Linked DNA regions of Homo sapiens: regions 2 and 3 are each linked to region 1. The links are contacts of gene promoters, found by promoter capture Hi-C in blood cells and fetal thymus (Javierre and others, 2016). All regions are on one chromosome and are shown on one strand. The core of a region is centred on a gene start or on the middle of the fragment in contact, and the rest is flanking DNA. Distances in the headings are between cores, read along the strand shown.

Region 1 (3,542 bases), core at 1-2,500:
CCGCCACTGTTTTATTTTAATCCACACATTCCCAGTCCTGAGCAATCCTTACCCCAGAGCTCGATTTTCAGGGAACCACAAAAGACAAATAGGCCAGAATAATCTAAGTCCAAGGGAGCCCTCCCGGCCACTTACAAACAGGGTCTTCCATTTTCAAGGGTCTTTTCAAACGGATGTTGGCAGGGACCGTCTTCTCGATCAATTCATCAATGCTCTAAAATTAAAACGCAAGGCAGAGGAAAGTGCCTCTGAGTTAAAAGAGTCACCTCTGTGTTTTGCGACTACAAAGCCTTGTGGGAACCTCATTGAAATCGCCTAATTAGGGTTCTTTTTAAAAGAAAAGGAAAACTCTGAGCAAGCCAGAATGATTTGGAGGAAAGAAAATCGTGAAGTGGGGTGGAGATTCCGCCACTCGGGGTTGGATTTCAGTTGCAACCGGAGCTAACCGGTAAGCCCACTCTTAATCAGGGGGTCTTCCTCCTCTTGCAAAGTTTAGGTCCATCCACAGGGCCACTTGGGCTGGGGGTGGTTTAAAAATGTACACTTTTGAGGCACGAAGACTGGGTGCAGGAGAAAGTAAGCTGTTAAGAAGTAAGAAGGCACGAGGACCAAAGGCACGAATTTGCTTCCACGCCACGGCCCGGGACCCAGGGTGCGGGGACCACGCGGAGCGCAGCAGAGCTCAGGGTAGGAGCCGGGAGGCCGCGCAGGCAGAGCCCGGGCAGGGCGGAGGGGAGGCCGCGGAGGGCCGGGTGGAGGTCCTTACCGCCAGCCCCAAGGTCTGCAGCATCTCTCTCTGGTCTTTGTCCCCAGGGCCGATGTGCCTCCGAGCGAAGTCGTCGTGTCTGGGCAGAAGGCGCTCCAGGAGGCGCGAGGCCCCAGCCGCGGCGCTGTCCCCGCCGCCACTGCTGCTGTCCCGGCTCCGCGGCGCCCAGCACGGCCCCGATCCCCCAGCCAGGCGGCGGCCGCCCCCGACCCCGCGGCCCAGGCGCAGCCCCCACGCCCTGGCACAGGACTGCATGGCCGCGGCCACCGTCCCCTGCCCCGGCCCGCAAGGGTCAGCCGCGCTCTTGGCCCCTCTCCTGGCCTCGGTCCCCCGGGTGGCGGCTGCGCCCGGCCTGGAGCCCCTTTCGCTGGACAGTCGGCCGGACAGATGGATGGACGCTCGCGGGCAATGAATGGGCGCTGCGCTCAACCAAGACACTCGCGCAAAGTTGTGGCTCCACCCAAGGCACCTGCTCCGCACACTTTAAGCGGCGCCCTGGAGGCGGGAGGTGGGTTGGGGCCAGGAAGCCCTTGGCCAATGAAAGTAGACAGAGGGGGAGGGGGCGGAACAGTTCCCGCCCCCGCCCCCTCTTCCTACCCTCTTCCCAGCCCTTCCGTGGAGTCCCGCTTCCCCTGGACCGGAGGCTGCCATCTCCAGTCCTACCCACTCCGACGCTGGCTGGTGCCGGGGGCCGGGACGCTCCGTACGCCGCCCGCCAGGGTGTGGAGCCGCACTGGGGCAAGATCAGGTGGGACAGCCCAAAGACTCCGGGCCAAGTTCCTGGGGGACTCGGCGGAGATGGAAGATGATTCTCGAAGCTCTCCATTTCCTTAATTTTGAGGTATCTTTCTCTGTCACATTTCATCTCAGGGAAATTAATATGGGCAGATGGCGGTTCTTTTATCTTTGCGGGAGCGTGATAAAGTTACTCAACCTCTCAGAGCTTCAGTTTTCTCATCTCAACAGAGCTGGATGGGATTTTAAAAAGAGATTATATGTACATGGAAAGCACTTGAACAGTAGATTTGAACACCCTCTCTATATTTCTTTTCTTTTCTTTCTTCCTTCTTTCTCCTCCTCCTCCTCCTCCTCCTTCTTCTCACTCTCTCTCTTTCTCTCTCTTCCCCCCCACCACATGTAACGCTATGGCTCACGCCTGTAATCGCAACACTTTCGGAAACCGACGCGGTAGGATAGCTTGAGCCCAGGAGTTCGAGACCAGCTTGGGCAGCATTGTGAAACCCTGTCTCTACAAAAAATACAAAAATTAGTGGGGCGTGGTTGCGTGCTTCTGAAGTCCCAGCTACTCTGGAGGCTGAGGTGGGAGGATTGCTTGAGTCAGGGAGTTTCAGGCTGCAGTGAGATGTGATCGCACCACTGCACTCCAGCGTGGGCCACAGAACGAGACTCAGGAAAAAAAAAAAAAAAAGAACTGTGTGTGTGTGTGTATATGTTTTTTTAAATATATGTACTGTATATACATATACGTGTGTGTGTAAAACTACAAAGGATATTTTGTTGTTGTTTTTGAGACGGAATCTCGCTCTGTCGCCCTGGCTGGAGTGCAGTGGCGCGATCTTGGCTCACTGCAACCTCCACCTCCCGGGTTCAAGCGATTGTCCTGCCTCAGGCTCCTGAGTAGCTGGGACTACAGGCACGTGCCACCACGGCCGGCCATTTTTTATTTTTATTTTTAGTAGAGACGGGGTTTCACCGTTTTAGGCAGGATGGTCTCGATCTCCTGACCTCGTGATCCGTCATTACAGGCGTGAGCCACTGCGCCCAGCAAAAGTACAAAGGATATTAAGATAGACATTGTTCACTGTCGTCTTACTTTGAAAGTTAGCCATCTAGAACTGGATTTTTTGTAAATGTACCATCTCCAGCTGTCTCATGACAGTTTTAGCAAGAGAATGAACTTTTAAAATTCCAGTTGTTCTAATATGGGGAAGAGAGGACAGAAGTAATCAGAACATTACTTGTACTTAGACTAGGGGAAAATAAAACCTGTTCTCTTTCTTGCTTATCTGCTAAGTTTCCTCCTCCAATCACCCTTAACAGATTCTGGGCTCCGTACCCAGGAGGCACAGACTATCCAGAGAGGCAGGAAAGTAGAGATGGAAAAGAGGGCAGGAAAATACACCACAAAGAACAGTAGGTAAAATGTCTGTATGGCAGACGGAGGCGGGTGGTGAGCTAGGACGGCTGGGCTGAATGTCTCCGAAAAGTTTTTCGGCCATTTGGAATTGAAATTACAACCTTCATAAAAGTTGGGAGATCTCCTCAGTGCCAGATGGTGGGGGTTGTGGGGAAGGATTGGAGGGAGGAGGTAATCTGCATTTATTCCTATTCCTGTCTATGTTGTTTCTATGTATCAGAGGGACTGGAAGCCAGGGAACAATAATTCCCAGATCCCTTTGGCTCCGTGGTGATGGATGTTATTTGCCTTCTGCCAAAAAAAAACATGTATATATACACACATATATGTATATGAGAATTGGGGCCGGGTGCGGTGGCTCACTCCTGTAATCCCAGCACTTTGGGAGGCCGAGGCGGGCAGGTCACTTGAGGACAGGAGTTCAAGACCAGCTTGGCCAAGATGGCGAAACTCAATCTCTACTACAAATATGAAAAAAAATTTAGCCAAGTTTGGTGGGCGTGCTTGTAGTCCTAGCTACTCAGGAGGCTAAGGCATGAGAATCACTTGAACCTGGGAAACAGAGGTTGCAGTGAGCGGAGAGCGCACCACTGCACTCCAACCTGGGTGATAGAGCAA
Region 2 (3,542 bases), core at 532-3,031, 290 kb before region 1:
ACTACCCATTCTTCATCAAACCTAGCATTAAAAAAAACCCACACACAACCCTCAGGTTTAATGGTTTCTTCAGATTTTTATTTCTGTATGAAGTCTCCAAGTCATGTAAAACTTACATTAAATAAATTTGCGGGCTTTTCTCTTATTAATCTGCATGTTGTTACAGGGACCTTAGCCATGAACCTAAAATAGGTAGAAGGAAAGATATTTTTCCTTCCCTATGAGGTAAAGTAACTTTCCCAAAAACACACTGCTAATAAGTGGCAGAAATGGGGTTTGAACAAGGATTCTGAATATAGACCACCACCCTCCTTATCCATTATATGGCATATTTATAACACCTGACCCTCCAACCAACTAATCGACCTGGGCCTTGTCTGAAAGGCAATGGAGGTTCTAATTATTTTTGTATGTGATTAAAATAAATGTTCTTCCTTCGGATATCCATATAGCTAATTCCCTCACATCTGTATGGAATAAATTACGTCCCTCCCCAAATTTATATGTTGAATCCCTAATCCCCAGCATTCAGTGCAGTATCCGACACACAGCAAGTGATCAATAAATAAATGACAAGAAGAAAGAAAGCTCAGGAATTGACTGAGTCTTCCTCAGACCAAACTCCATGGGACAGGAAGGAGGCAGGGCTGAGCCAAGAAGAGGGACCTGGCTTATGCTTAGAAATGGGGTAAGCATGATGACAAATTACAGCTTCAACAAAAGATCAGGGTAGCTGGAGTCAGAAAGGCAAATTCATCCAAACCAAGAAGGCATCTTAAGACGCTAAAAACTGAAGAGCATGAAGGAAGCCAAAGACTAATTCTGCCATAGATCTGGTTGTTAAGCCTCGTGGCTCTTTTTTTTTTTCTTTCTTTTTTTGAGATGGAGTCTCGCTCTGTCACCCAGGCTGGAGTGCAGTGGCGGTCTCGGCTCACTGCAACCTCCACCTCCCGGGTTCACGCCATCTTACCTCAGCCTCCCGAGTAGCTAGGACTACAGGCGCCCGCCACCACGCCCGGCTAATTTTTTGTATTTTTAGTAGAGACGGGGTTTCACCTTGTTAGCCAGGATGGTCTCGATCTCCTGACCTCGTGATCCATCCACCTCGGCCTCCCAAAGTGCTGGGATTACAGGCGTGAGCCACCACGCCCGGCCAGCCTCCTGGCTCTTAATCCTCTGCTCACCTCACCTGCTCAGGTGTTGCCTCCAGAATGCTTTAAAGTATTCTGTTCTGACACTCTTTTGACCTTAGCCCAGGCAGGATTGATGGTGATCTAAGGAAAGATACGCAAGTCTACTCAGCTCCTTCAAAAGTTTCCTTCTGCCTGAGCATAGTGGCTCATGCCTATAATTCCAGTGCTTTGGGAAGCTGAGGCAGAACAACCGCTTAAGCCCAGGAGCTGAAAACCAGCCTGGGCAACATAGCAAGACCCTGTCTCTATAAAAAACAAAAATTAGCTGGGTATGGTGGCACATGCCTGTGGTCCCAGCTACCAGGGAGGCTGAGGTGGGAGGATTGCTTGAGCCTCAGTTCAAGTTCGAGGCTTCAGTGGGTTATGATTGCACCACTGCATTCCAGCCTGGGTGACAGAGTGACACCCCATCTCTAAAAGAAAAAAAAAAGTTTCCTTCCCTTCTAGAACTTCAGAGTTTTAGAAAAGAAAATCCTTAGCGTGCTCTTCCAGGTGACAGCTCAAGGAGTCTCTTCAGACTCCACTGGAAATCTCTTGCTTGGGCCAACCTTCCCCTACTGTCCATCCCTTTGCCACTTGAATTTCACCTCTCTCCATGGTCCCTTTTGATGGCATCTTAGTTGTGGTTTTTACTCCGAGGTACTGTCTCTTGAATTACTTTACTCAGCAGTCTCTGAGCAGCCCAACCCTGCATCCCGGGCTCCTGCCCCTGCAGGAAGGGATTTAGCGAAAAGGAATAAAAAGAATATCTGTAATACACCCCTTCTTCCAGCAACCTCCCACACTCACACCTCTTCTTCAACACAAGGGGGTGCTACTCACATGGTCATTTTACACTATTCTGCACTACACAAACTTCATTGTGATGTTCTTCACCCCCATACCTCCATCAGCCACAACTCTTGAAGAAATGTTTATGAAAGCCTAAATCTAGGATTCCCCCTGAAATGTGGATGAATTTTACACCAGTTCCTTAAGTTGAAAAATATTTGCCATTAATGAGGGCTTAAACCTTACCTGTAGAAATAATTTGCAATACAAGAAAAGGGTCAGGGAAATTTTTTAACTCCATAGAGTATGGGACTAAATCCATGTATTTACTTCCAAGCCAGGCAAGTAGAGGGGACTCTATTCTGATCTAAAATGAGAAGAGAAAAATGCTTCTCTCAAGGAAGAGGTTGTTTGTGGCAGTGAAGGGAGAAGCAAGAGGATCAATGTTGAGGGTCAGCAGATGAAAAGAAAGGAAGTAAGCCAGGAGCTGCCCAAGCTGATCAAGAAAGACTCACAGCTTCTCACGAGGTGGCATCCTCCAACTCCCAAACTCTGAAGGCCTCCAGCTCCACATCTCATTACCTTCCTCCCAATCATCTTCTAGGGAGAATTTTCTGCCCTAGGCTACAGAGGCTCAGAAATGAGGGAAGTTGGGGAAAGGAAGATTCCCCCATGCCTGGCATCCTTAGCTGGTCCCACACATCTTCCTATAAAAATACTCTTCATGGGCCAGGTGCAGTGGCTCAAGCCTGTAATCCCAGCAGTTTGGGAGGCCGAGGCGGGTGGATCACAAGGTCAGGAGTTCAAGACCAGCCTGGCCAACATGGTGAAACCCCGTCTCTTCTAAAAATACAAAAATTAGCTAGGCATGGTGGTACACACCTGTAATCTCAGCTACTGGGGAGGCTGAGGCAGAAGAATTGCTTGAACCCAGGAGATGGAGGTTGCAGTGAGCCGAGATCGTGCCACTGCACTCCAGCCTTGGTGACAGAGCAAGACTCCATCTCAAAAAAAAAAAAAAAAAAATGAGGTGGTCAAGTCCTGTAATTCTGGAACTCTACTTCAGAGGATTATGGATTAAACCTAGCTAACCACCAGGCAGACATAATGTGGTTACTATGGAGAACGCATCCTGAGTCCCACAGAACTTACTTCTGCAAACGAACCGCTGGAATTCTGCCATTCTGACATGGGGACTGCTTGTGTAACCCTCAAATGAGGGAGGAAGATGTATTGACATCTTTTGGACCTGTTAGATTCATAAGACAAGGAATAATTTTGTATCCTTTTTGCTTGAGAGCTTTTCATATTGCCTTTTGATCATTCTGGAGATCAAGAAATACGTTCCCTTCCTTCTGGTCAGGTTTTAAAGAATTCTGAGGCCTCTGGCTGGCACATTCACTGATTCCTATAGAATCAAAGCCATGATTTTGAGTCTCACTTGCTTAGAAATGTAAAGGAATGAGTAAAAGTCGGAAGGAAGTTTAATTTTAGCTTCTTTGGGCTTTTTGATCATGAAAACTAAAGCATATCTGATACAAATACACTTTACTGAAGTTCAGAGAGTTAAGTTTGTCT
Region 3 (3,542 bases), core at 443-2,942, 270 kb before region 1:
GACTTTGTCTTGTTGTTTCAGTGCCAGCTTAGCCACAATGGGATAGAGCACCAGGTGGATTTCTTGGGTTTCAAACTCCGGGCCCTGTCTCCCAGATGGAATTTCTGGACCTGCCTGGGGCTGGGGAGGATCTTGCTGCCCTGAAGGGAAGACAAAGTCCTGGCTGGCTTTACTACCTGCTGATTGAAGAGCCCTAGTGCCATGAGTGAATATAGGCAGTATAGCTAGGCAGTGGTTACCAAAGGCCTTGAGCAAGACCCAGTGCTATGCTGGCTTCAGGTCTAACCCAGCACAATCTGAATGCTGGGGGCCACAATGGTGCTTGTGTCACCCCTCCCCTAGCTCTAGGCAGCTCAGCACAGAAAGAGACTCTGTTTGTGTGGGAGAAAGTAAGGGAAGACAACAAGAGTCTTATGCCTGGTAATCCAGAGAATTCTTCTGGATCTTATCCAAGTCCACCAATATGGTACTTCTATGAGCTTACAAAAGCAACAGCAATACTGCGCTTGGGGTGCCCCCTAATGCAGGTATGGCTGCCATAGGCAAAAGCTTAAATCACAACACCCAAGTCCCTTTGAACACCTGGAAAGTCTTCCCAAGAAGGGTGGGTACAACAAGCCCAGACTGTGAAGACTACAATGAATACTTAACTCCTTAAAGCCCAGACACTGACAAACATCCACAAGAATCAAGACCATGTAGGAAAACATGACCTCACCAAATGAACTAAATAAGTCACCAGGGACCAATTATGGAGAGACAGAGATATGTGACCTTTCAGAGAGAGAATTCAAAATAGCTGTGTTAAAGAAATTCAGTGAAATTCAAGATAACACAGAGAAGGAATTCAGAATCCTATCAGATAAATTTCTTTCTTTCTTTATTTTGAGACAGGGTCTCACCCTGTCATAGGCTGGTCCCCAGTGGCATGATCCCAGCTCACTGTATCCTCTGCCTCCTGGACTCAAGTGATCCTCCCACCTCAGCCTCCCAAGTAGCTGGGACTACAAGTGGGCGCCACCATTCTCAGCTAATTTTTGTATTTTTTTTGTAGAGAGGAGGTTTTGCCATGTTGCCCAGGTGGGTCTCGAACTCCTGGGCTCAAGTGATTCAACTGCCTCAGCCTCCCAAAATGCTGGGATTACAGGTGTGAGCCACTGCACCTAGCCCTATTGGATAAATTTAACAGAGGCCCACTAGCCTAGAAGAAAAAAATGGTTTTCTGGGCTAGGCCCAGGGCCTCTGCTGTGTGCAGCCTAGAGACTTGGTGCCCTATGTCCCAGCTGCTCTAGCTGTAGCTAAAAGGGGCCAAGGTACAGCACTCAGGCCATGGCTTCAGAGGGTGCAAGCCCCAAGCCTTGGCAGCCTCAACATGGTGTTGACTCTGCAGTTGCACAGAAGTCAAAAATTGAGGTTTGGGAACCTCCACCTGGATTTCAGAGGATGTACGAAAACACCTGGATGTCCAGGCAGAAGTTTGCTGCAAGGGTGGGGCCCTCGTGGACAACCTCTGCCAGGGCAGTACAGAAGGGAAATGTGGGGTCAGAGCCCCCACACAGAGTCCCCAGTGGGGCACTGCCTGGTGGAGCTATCAGAAGAGGGCCACCATCCTCCAGATCCCAGAATGGTAGGTCCACCAACAGCTTGCATTGTGTGCCTGGAAAAGCCACCGACACTCAATACCAGCTTGTGGAAGCAGCTGGGAAGGGGGCTGTGCCCTGCAAAGCTACAGGAGTGGACCCACCCAAGGCTGTGAGAGCCCACTTCTTGCATCAGCATGCCCTAGATGTGAGACATGGAGTCAGAGGAGATCATTTTGGAACTTTAAGGTTTTATGACTGCCCTATTGGATTTCAGACTTGCATGAGGTCTGAAGCCTCCACCCAGTGGACAGGTTAGTTGGAGTTTCTCCAGGGAACCCCTCCACCTGGCTGTCTCATTACCCTCTCTAAAGAAGTACATCTAACTGCTGTTAGATTAAGGACAAAGACTGATCTTAACTGCTTCCTGTGACAGAGGGCACTGTTTTGGGAAACAGCAATCAAAGTTCCCTCAGAGGCCTATTTAAGGGTTCCCAGCAGAAGGGGCCATCGTCAGAGGCTCCGGTTGCATGATTGCTTGGAGTTTGATGGCCTGAAGGCAAGAACAGACAAACTGGGTTATTAGAAAACATGTATAAAATGAAATAAGGGGAGGGGTAAGGATTCCGTGGCCTTTTACCAGCTTTCAGAGAGAGGGAGGCCAAAAGCCTGACTGGCAGAGAAACTTTACCCTTTCGCTGGCATGTTGGGCTTCTGGGTTCTCTTCCCCTGAGTCCAATCCTAAGCCAACCAGTTTAAGGTTTGGGAAATTAACTTTTTCCAGTTTGGAGGACACATCTGAGGTGAGTGTCCTGGAGGCACAATTGCCTATCTGTGAAAAGAGGACAGAGGAGAAGAAAGGAAAAAAAGAAGGCTTTTTTTTTCAAAGGAGTCTCAGGGTTCAGGATGCATTCAAAAGAGGTACAGACTGAAGATGAATGGCTACCCATCTAGAAAGAGGGAAGCAGGTATCCCTGGTTTCCTTCTCCTCCTAGCAGATACCCAAGGTACATGAGGGAGGGAAGGAAGAGCGTCCTCTTTCCCTCTTCCATCCTTGCATCCCTGAATCCCGGTGACCTTGGCAGGTCCCACCATGATTGCCAAAGCAGCTTGCACCCATGAAGCAGGGGGTTCCTAGAGAATAGGAATTATCCAATCTCATGTATGCCTCTATTCACCCTACTATCAGTAGCCTTGGAGTTCCCTAGATCTCATTTATGCCATGGATATTAACGTGGCCTTTATCCATGAAACAGGAAGCTTGGGCTTGGCTTAATTGGCAGGAATCAGCCATGCTTACCTGCGCTGTGCCTTTTAACCTCTGTTGTCATTTGGCTCTGGATCCATTAGATCCAGTTTTCTTTCATAGGGCTTTGACCCAAAGCTTGGAATTGAGTTTGGGACAAAAATATGTCTCGGGGGGTTGCATGGACTCCTTGTCATAAACCAAATGCTAAGATGAAACTGTGGAACTATGCTAAGATGAAACTGTGGAACTAAGTCCTCCTCCAACAACGGACAGGAAAGAATGTCTTGTGACACAACCAGATAACTGGTGGCTATAGTTATGCTTGCTAAGATTTGGGTGCATGGTGTTTCACTTTGGTTAGCTCCCTTGGTCTTACTTTCCCAAAAAGGAAACCTCCGAGTGTTGGGTATCCTATTTATTCCCATCACCTTGCAGGATTTGCAGGATAATTGCTCAACTAGAATACTGATTCAGATTTTAACATTACCCATCCCTTTTGTTCTTTTTGAGCTGCAGCCAGGGATTGCTGGTTGGTTCACAGGGGCAAGCAGGGTTTAAAAACAAGTAATGAGTTTAGAATTTAATGATAAATGTATGATAAGTTTTGAAACATGATTTCTCTCTCTCCAGTCCTCATTTTTGTTAAAAAATCATCATAGGACTGAATGGTTTTCAGAACAGACCTTAGTCTTATACTTGGTCTGATTATTTGC

Evidence for each region. The method cuts DNA at HindIII sites, captures the fragments that hold promoters and counts their contacts. A CHiCAGO score of 5 or more calls a contact.
Region 2: a contact is called between a fragment that was not itself captured here and the fragment with the promoter of GLDC in region 1, in 1 of 17 cell types (M0 macrophages). The highest score is 5.2, in M0 macrophages.
Region 3: a contact is called between a fragment that was not itself captured here and the fragment with the promoter of GLDC in region 1, in 1 of 17 cell types (endothelial precursors). The highest score is 5.2, in endothelial precursors.

What each region holds. Positions count from the first base shown.
Region 1 is chr9:6,644,479-6,648,020 of GRCh38, forward strand. It overlaps GLDC (glycine decarboxylase), which reads right to left and starts at 1,251. Exons shown (of 25, transcript NM_000170.3): 1 at 767-1,251; 2 at 136-214. The coding sequence starts at 1,021. RefSeq lists enhancers at 461-1,018, 1,999-2,108, 2,159-2,258, 3,245-3,542 and silencers at 699-768, 809-1,008, 1,079-1,328. The HindIII fragment of the contact is 9,537 bases long and covers 1-3,542 here.
Region 2 is chr9:6,352,292-6,355,833 of GRCh38, forward strand. No RefSeq gene overlaps it. Among named protein-coding and RNA genes, the nearest start is that of TPD52L3, 26 kb to the left of the region's middle. The HindIII fragment of the contact is 5,954 bases long and covers 1-3,542 here.
Region 3 is chr9:6,369,522-6,373,063 of GRCh38, forward strand. No RefSeq gene overlaps it. Among named protein-coding and RNA genes, the nearest start is that of UHRF2, 42 kb to the right of the region's middle. The HindIII fragment of the contact is 2,291 bases long and covers 548-2,838 here.